Regions from separate parts of the Homo sapiens genome. Here regions 2 and 3 are each linked to region 1. The links are contacts of gene promoters, found by promoter capture Hi-C in human tissues and cell types (Jung and others, 2019). All regions are on one chromosome and are shown on one strand. Each heading gives the region's core, a stretch centred on a gene start or on the middle of the fragment in contact. The rest is flanking DNA. Distances are from core to core; before and after follow the strand shown.

Region 1 (2,700 bases), core at 117-2,616:
CTTATGTAGGGGGGCAGTGTCTAGCTTCCCAACTCCACCCCAAACCAAGTGCCAGGTTCCTGGATCTGGGAGGAGTTCCCTGAAGCCCTGAGCGTGAGTTCTGTGGAATGTGCTGGGGAAGGGGTCTCACCGTGATATTCTCGGCCTCCTTGGCCTCCAAGAGGTACCTCTCCAGGACTCGGCTGTCACAGATGAGGCGTGGTGGGGCGCCCAGGACTGGGAGGCCCAGAGGGAGCGACAGCAGGGACAGGAGAAGCCACAGCCAGGCAGGACATTCTAGAACAGATAGCCAGGCTGAGAGTCAGGCGGGGAGGGAGAAGGGTGGCTGTGGAAGGACAGCTTCCTTCATCCCCACGTCTCTGCCCCAGCTCGTCCTTCCTGTCCCCAACCATGCAAGCACTCAGGTGCTGCCTCCCTGGCCTTCATTCAATCCTGCTGCCGTGTGCACACCCCACCCCCAGCTACCAGCATCCACTTCTCCGGCCAAACTTCAATCCTGGTGTGACAGAGGCTTCCCCTCTGGCAGATAAGTGGTGGCTCCAGCGCCCAGGTTATCAGCTTATCAGCTTCCTCTCCACTGGCACAGCAGAACCCCCAAACCTTCTTCCCCTCAACCCCCAAACTGTGTCCCCTTCACAGGTCAGGTTTTTGCCATCCCCAAGGACTCCCCCAAGTCCCCGCTGGCACGTGGAGGCTGCCCCACCCCCCTCCCCCTTCCGGGGTCCTTGACAAGTCGCCGGTCCTTGAACCCAGCCACCTCCTGGCCAATAGCCGGGGCGCTAAATCCCCGCTCAAACAGGGACCCGGGCGGGCGGGAGCGCCCAGCCCGCGAGTACTCACCGTGCACCCCCATCTCCGCGCCTGGCCGGGGTCCCTCAGCGACCTGGGGCGCGCCGGGTGACCACACCGGGGGCCCTCATCCCGGGAAGCTCGGCGGTGCAGGGCCAGCCCCACGGGCCTGGAGGAGAGGGCGGCTGTCCAGGGGGCGCGGTGTCGGAGCAGAGCGGGCGCGGTGGCCCCGGTCCGGCTCCGGGAGGACAGCGCGGTGCGGCGCAGCGCAGCGAGCGGCCGGGGTGGCCCAGGGACTCTGCGGCTCTGGCCGGGGGTCGGGGCTGTTATCTGCATGTGTGCGTGCGCGGGTGGGGGTGGGGGAGAGGCTGTGTGCGTGAGGGGTCGCCAGGGGTAGGGGCCACCCGGGGTCAGAGCAGGGGCAGGACGCCTGGGTTGAGGCTCGCCGGGGCGTGAGCGGGGCTGCTGCAGACGTGCGTGTGGGTCATGGGGGCTGCTCCCGGGCCCTGGGTCGCGGGAGGGGAGTGCAGCCGGTTGCGCACCCTTGGGACTGGCGGAGCGTGCTATCTGGGAAAGGCTGGGCTCCCGGACACCTCCCCTGGGGGGCATCCCGGTCTTGGGCGGAGACTCAGAGATGCCTGGGTTGCTGAGTTCCGCAAAGTAGCTGGGTCTGGAAGCCCAGAAGCTTTAGGGAGGGGCAAATGAGTGGTCTCCCTTCCCACAATCCCAGGACATGTTCTAGAAACAATGTTGACCATGTTGAGGAATTTGATGGGGGCAAATAGGGCAAGAAATTTGGGGTTCTTCCTCCCCACCTCACTCCTCACCGTCTAGTACTCTGCAAACCCAGACACTTAACTTTTTTTTTTTTTTCTGGAGATGTAGCCTCCCTATGTTGCCCAGGCAGTGCAGTGGTGCCATCTCCCGTTCACTACAACCTCTGCCTCCTGGGTTCAAGCAATTCTCCTGCTTCAGCCTCTGGAGCAGCTGGGACTACAGGCACACCTTTACACCCGGCTATGTTTTGTATTTTTAGTAGAGATGGGGTGTTGCCATATTGCCCATACCGGTCTTGAACTCCTGACCTCAGGTGATCCACCCTCCTCGGCCTCTCAAAGTGCTGGGATTGCAGGCGTGAGCCACCGCACCCAGCCCCCACCCCAGACACTTAACTTTTAGTGCACAGAGCACACAGTCCATTGTGCAGGACACACATGCACCTTGACATCTGTTTATTTGACCTGTGGTGTAGGTTAGCTAGGCTGCATTGCTGAGTTCTTAAGAACACTGAAATACAGCTAACACCAAGAGTGATGGGGGCTGGGATTTACAGCTAAGGTTTTATGGCTTCTGGAAACCCTGAGCCAGAGGAGTGAGATTCCCAGAGCAGGAGACCAAGACTAGCTGGTCTCTCACACCTTAGAAAGTGGCCTCGTCCTTGAGCCCTCAATGTCCTCATCTGTCAAATGGGTGTGGTGAAACTACCAGCCTATCCCATTCAGGTTTCATAAAAGACAGGAAAGGTCCAGGCGCCGCAGCTGACACCTATAATCCCAGCACTTTGGGAGACCAAGGCAGGAAGATCCTTTGAGCCCAGGAGTTCGAGACCAGCCCGGACAACATGGCAAGACCTTGTCTCTAAAATAAATAAATAAATAAAAAATAATTAGTCAGGTGTGGTGGCTCACGCCTGTAGTCCCAAATATGCAGGAGGCTAAGGCAGGAGGATCACCTGAGCCCAGGAGTTCGAGGCCGTAGTGAGCCATGATCGTGCCACTGCACTGCAGCCTGGGCGACAGAGTGAGAGCCTGTCTCAAAAACAAAAAAAGACTGGAATGTGTAGATCTGAGCTGTAAGAGTTAGCCGGGAGAAATCAAGAAAGATTTGAGGGAGGAGGTGACAATGACCTCA
Region 2 (2,700 bases), core at 166-2,665, 270 kb after region 1:
GAGCAGGCACAGGCAGACTTGTGGGAGAGGAAGGAAAGGGGTGGGCAGAAGGAAGCTGCCTCTTGATGACAGTTTTTTTGTGTGTTTTTTTGAGATGGAGTCTCACTCTATCGCCAAGGCTGGAGTGCAGTGGTGTGATCTCGGCTCATTGCAACCTCCGCCCGTGGGGTTCAAGTGGTTCTCCTGCCTCAGCCTCTGGAGTAGCTGGGATTACAGGTGCTTGCCACCACACCCATGTAACCGTTTTTGTTTTTTGGTTTTTTTTTTTTTTTTTTTGAGACAGAGTCTCACTCTGTCACCCAGGCTGTAGTGCAGTGGCATGATCTCCGCTGACGGCAAGCTCCGCCTCCCGGGTTCACACCATTCTCCTGCCTCAGCCTCCTGAGTAGCTGGGATTACAGGTACATGCCACCACGCCCGGCTAATTTTTTTTCGTATTTTTAGTAGAGAACGGGGTTTCACCATGTTAGCCAGGATCGTCTTGATCTCCTGACCTCGTGATCCGCCTGCCTTGGCCTCCCAAAGTGCTGGGATTACAGGCATGAGCCACCGCGCCTGGCCACACCCGGCTAACTTTTGTATTTTTAGTAGAGACAGGGTCTCACCATGTTGTCCAGGCTGGTCTTGCACTCCTGACCTCAGATGATCCACCTGTCTCAGCTCCCCGAAGTGCTAGGATTACAGGCGTGAGCCACTGCACCCGGCCAGTGGTTTTTGTTTTTTAGAGACAGGGTCTGGCTCTGTTGCCCAGGCTGGAGGGCAGTGGCGCAATCATGGCTCACTGCAGCCTCCAACTCCTGGACTCAAGCGATCCTCCCACCACAGCCTCCCGAATAGCTGAAACTACAGGTGTATGCCACCATGCCCAGCTAATTCTTTTTTAATATTTGTGGCGATGGGTTCTAGCTATGTTGCCCAGTCTGGTCTCAAACTCCTGGCCTCAAGCAATCCTCCTACCTCGGCCTCCCAAAGTGCTGGGATTACAGGTGTGAACCACTGCACCCAGCTAGGAATGTCATTTTGGAAGTGATAAAGAATACCATGTGCAGGAAGTAGTAGGAGGAGCCCTTGATGCGGAGTCAAGAGACCTTGGTCCTAGTCTCAATATTGCTACTACTTTGCTGTACGACTCTTATTTTTATTTTTTATTTATTTTTGAGACAGAGTCTCGCTCAGTTGGCCAGACAGGAGGACAGTGGCACAATCATAGCTCACTATAGCCTCCATCTCCTGGTCAATCCTCCTGCTTCTGCCTCCCAAAGGGCTGGGATCGCAGGCACTTGGTGATTTTTGAGAGTCACTTTCCTTCACTGAGACTCAAGCTCCTTAAATAAAATGATGACTTGATGGCTGGGCACAGTGGCTCACACCTGTAATCCCAGCACTTTGGGAGGCTGAGGTGGGTGGATCACCTGACGTCAGGAGTTCGAGACCAGCCTGGCTAACATGACGAAACCCTCTACTAAAAATACAAAAATTGGCTGGGCATGGTGGCTCACGCCTGTAATCCCAGCACTTTGGGAGGCCGAGGTGGGAGGATCACGAGGTCAGGAGATCGAGACCATCCTGGCTAACACGGTGAAACCCCGTCTCTACTAAAAATACAAAAAATTAGCTGGGCGTGGTAGCCGGCACCTGTAGCCCTAGCTACTTGGAAGGCTGAGGCAGGAGAATGGTGTCAACCTGGGAGGCGGAGCTTGCAGTGAGCTGAGATCTTGCCACTGCACTCTGGTCTGGGTGACAGAGTGAGACTCCATCTCAAAAAAAGAAAAAAAAATTAGCTGGGCATGGTGGCGCGCACCTGTCATCCCAGCTACTCGGGAGGCTGAGACAGGAGAATTGCTTGAACCTGGGAGGCAGAGGTTGCAGTGAGCTGAGATCACGCCACTGAACTCCAGCCTGGGCGATAGAATCAGACTCTGTCTTCAAAAAATAAAAATAAAAATAACAAACTTCCTCAGGCTTCAGGGAGTGTTGAGTTAACCTGCAGAAACAAGGTAAGTTCCTGGGAGGTGCTAACTAGCAGTTGCCGGAGACAGAACCAGCCCAGCCTTTGGGCTCACAAAGACCAGGTTCAAATTCTGCCTTTCCTGGCTGTGTGACCTTCAGCAAGTGAATTAACCTGTCTGAATCTCTGTCTCAAAAGCAAGGCTCTGTCTCAAGAAAAAAAAAAAAGGAAAATAAATGAAATAGTTATTAGAGTGTGGTCCTGGACCAGAGCATCGCATTCCCCAGAGAGTAGTAGAAATTCAAACTCCAGGCCCTGCACCGCAGACCTACTGAATCAAAAACCCTAGGATGGGGGCCAGCAATCTGTTTGAACACGCCTGCTGAAGTTTGGGAATCACTGCCACACTGCATGGGAATGTAGACTGTTGGGATTCTGAAGCTTAGGACATATCACAATCTCCTGAGAGCTTGTTAAAAACACAGATTCCAGGCCGGGCATGGTGGCTCACACCTGTAATCCCAGCACTTTGGGAGGCTGAGGCAGGTGGATCACGAGGTCAGGAGATGGAGACCATTCTGGCTAACGCAGTGAAACCCCGTCTCTACTAAAAATACGAAAAATTAGCCAGGCGTGGCGGCACTCACCTGTAGTCCCAGCTACTTGGGAGGCTGAGGCAGGAGAATTGCTTGAACCCGGGAGGTAGAGGTTGTAGTGAGTGGAGATTGCACCACTGCACTCCAGCCCGGTGA
Region 3 (2,700 bases), core at 197-2,696, 360 kb after region 1:
CAGGTTTGAGATCCTGAGGAAGCCGCTCTCCTGACCCTCTGTCCAGTTCAGAAAGAGCCGGTTCACATAATCCTTGTGAATGGAAGGCGGCCTTGTGCTGTAGAAGGACTGCCCGTGGAAGTGGCCCCGTCTCCAGGATATTCTCACGTTGGGAACTATGGCTAACTCCCAGGGGTAATAGAAGGAGAAGGGGATTTCCACAGAGCCACCCATGGAGGCTGAGAGGTGTTTTGGTTGAGTGACCCCATAAAGGTAGCTTGGACCAGATCCTGTGGAGCCACCTAGAGGAAGGAGGGAGTGAGTGGGGGAGAGACCTTGAAACCACCTCAGGACACAAAGAGGGTGACCCCAGACCCTCCCACACCTTCACCCACAGGCAGTCGTGTGACAGGTGGCTGGACTGACCTCTGGCCTGGGTCTCCCACTCTTCAGGCATGGGGGAGGGTGGAGGGGGAAGAGATGGCGGCACCCACCCCTATGGGACCCGCCCTTGTTTGCTGGAGGTGGGAGCCTGGCCCCTGCCCCAGATGTTCTGCCTTTGTCTTGGGTTGGCCCCTCCTGTGGTTTGGGCAGAGACCATACCTGGGCGGTCCTGGGTACTCACCAGGCTGCAGAAATGCTGGCGGCTGCAGCAGGAGCAGCAGGGGCAGCAGCAGGGGCCGACCCATGGCCTTGTTCTTCTCCAGGGGACGGGGAGACCAGCAGAGCTGTCCAGGCAGGAGAGGGGCCCTGTGGAGGGGCTGCCTGAGGGCTGAGGTGAGTGGGGAGAGCCAGGGTGAGGCTCCCCAGAGGGCTGTGGGGGCCGGGGACCTTCCCCAAACCAGTACACCTCCAGGGTGACCAGCACTTCCTTTATCCATCTGGCTTCTTATTGCAAAAGGGCCTTAGGTGCCTTTTTATCCCTTGCCTAATTGCTCCGGCCAGGACTTCAAATCCTTTTTTTTTTTTTTTTTTTAGTAGAGATGGGGTTTTGCCATGTTGGCCAGGGTGGTCTCACACTCATAGGCTCAAGTAATCTGCCCGCCTCAGCCTCCAAAAGTGCTGGGATTACAGGCGTGAGCCACTGTGCCCGGCCTGACTTCAAATCCTGTGTTGAATAGAAGTAGTGAGAGCGGGCATCCTTCTCTTGTTCCTGATCTTGGAGGCAAAGATTTCAGTCTTTCATCTAAAATGACTGAAAGACTTTCAGCCATGGGCCTTGCATGACTGGCCTTTATTTTGTTGCAGTACATTCCTTCTCTTCCTGGTTTGTGGAGTGTTTTACCAGGAAAGGGTGTTCAGGCTGGGCACAGTGGCTCAAGTCACACAAAAGTGTCAAGTCAGCCCTGCCCAAGGGCCCCAGTGCCCATCTTCCTGCTGAGGGGCTGGGCCTCACCTTGGCTGGCTGGGCCCCTCCCACCTGGATCCCTGCAGACCCCACCGCACTCAGCCTCACTTCTCATCCCTTTCTCTGTCCAAGGCCAGCGCAGGCTCTTTCAGGGAGAGGAAAGGCGGGCCTGAGTCTGTGCTCTGCTGCACCCCAGATTCAGTCCTCAGAGAGGAGAAGGAGGAAGCCAGTGGAGGTCACAGGCGCTCAGCCCCCAGCCCAAGCACCAGAGCCCCCAGCTTGTCCTCTGTCCCTCTCCCTCCCTGGCAGGGGCTCCCATGCAGTCCCCAGGCACCACCACAGCCCAGCTGGCCTCTTCCCACCCCAGGCCTGCTCCCTTGGTGCAGGGACCACAGTCTTGCTCAAGGGGTGAGGGGGCTGACGGTCCCCTACACAGAGACTGGTCCCTCTCGAGGCCACCCCTTGACCCCCAGACATGAGACTGGATCTGCAGGGTCCCCTCTGACCTCCCTGCCCTACACAGGAGGGGACAGAGCTTGGAGAAGCCCTGTCCCAGGCCACATGACTTGCAGGGCAGTCCCAGGACTGGAGCCCCCTCTACCTGGATCTCTGGGCCTCAACTTCTGAGTTGCAGGAACTCAGGCATAGGGGAGCCCCAGGAGGTTGTTCCCTCATACAGCCCCTCAGGTCATTCCCTCCACACACCTGAGCCTATGGCTGAACCAGGAAGGTTCCTTGGTGCCAGGGCAGCTGGACTCACCCTGGGTGATGGTGAGGTGGGTCCCCTTGATGGACTGCCACGACAGCCTCCCTGATCTGTATGTCCAGCTGGACTTGGCAGAAGTACACAGACTGGTCCTCCTTCCGCAGGTTCGAGATCCTGAGGAAGCCTCCCTGAGGAAGTGAAGGCTCAGAGCAACAGTGGGCACCCCGCACAAAGTCCTGGGCCCGTCTCTAACAGGGGATCTGCAGGTCTTTGCCCGGGGGTGGTCACTGGAGCTTTGGTGACCCACAGGGCTCCCTCCATAGGAGGCTCTGCCCATCCTCTCCAGAGTAAGGTGGCATCAGCTGAGGGGCCGTGGGGACAGGAAGGCAGGATTTCACCAGAGGAAGTGATAACAATCTTCTTGAGACAGAAGCAGGCAGGGACAGGCCTCCCTTCTCTTGTCAGTCTCTTCCCTGGTCCCAGTAGGCTCCTCTGTGCTTCCCAGGGCCAGTCAGGCCGATCCACCCTCCTTCCCTTCACAGGTCTGAGGAAACAGGCTCCCCATGCTCAGGAAACCCCTCCGTCTGAGCCAGGCCCTATACACCTCATTCTCCTTGTTCAACCCACAGGGAAACTGAGGCACCGGGGCTTTGGACTGAACTGGTCC

Evidence for each region. Contacts are between HindIII fragments. The study calls those that stand out against the background at their distance.
Region 2: a fragment that was not itself captured here is called in contact with the fragment with the promoter of EPO in region 1 in 1 of the 25 tissues and cell types used here (dorsolateral prefrontal cortex).
Region 3: a fragment that was not itself captured here is called in contact with the fragment with the promoter of EPO in region 1 in 1 of the 25 tissues and cell types used here (aorta).

Annotation. Positions count from the first base shown.
Region 1 is chr7:100,719,134-100,721,833 of GRCh38, reverse strand. EPO (erythropoietin) reads right to left here and starts at 1,366. Exons shown (of 5, transcript NM_000799.4): 1 at 841-1,366; 2 at 131-276. The coding sequence starts at 853. The HindIII fragment of the contact is 31,866 bases long and covers 1-2,700 here.
Region 2 is chr7:100,452,133-100,454,832 of GRCh38, reverse strand. No RefSeq gene overlaps it. Among named protein-coding and RNA genes, the nearest start is that of SPACDR, 11 kb to the left of the region's middle. The HindIII fragment of the contact is 6,473 bases long and covers 1-2,700 here.
Region 3 is chr7:100,356,271-100,358,970 of GRCh38, reverse strand. It overlaps PILRB (paired immunoglobin like type 2 receptor beta), which reads right to left and starts at 854. Exons shown (of 4, transcript NM_178238.4): 1 at 605-854; 2 at 1-281. The coding sequence starts at 668. STAG3L5P-PVRIG2P-PILRB (STAG3L5P-PVRIG2P-PILRB readthrough) reads right to left here. Exons shown (of 17, transcript NR_036570.1): 13 at 2,088-2,221; 14 at 605-751; 15 at 1-72. MIR6840 (microRNA 6840) reads right to left here and starts at 2,320; the gene lies at 2,250-2,320. The HindIII fragment of the contact is 7,568 bases long and covers 1-2,700 here.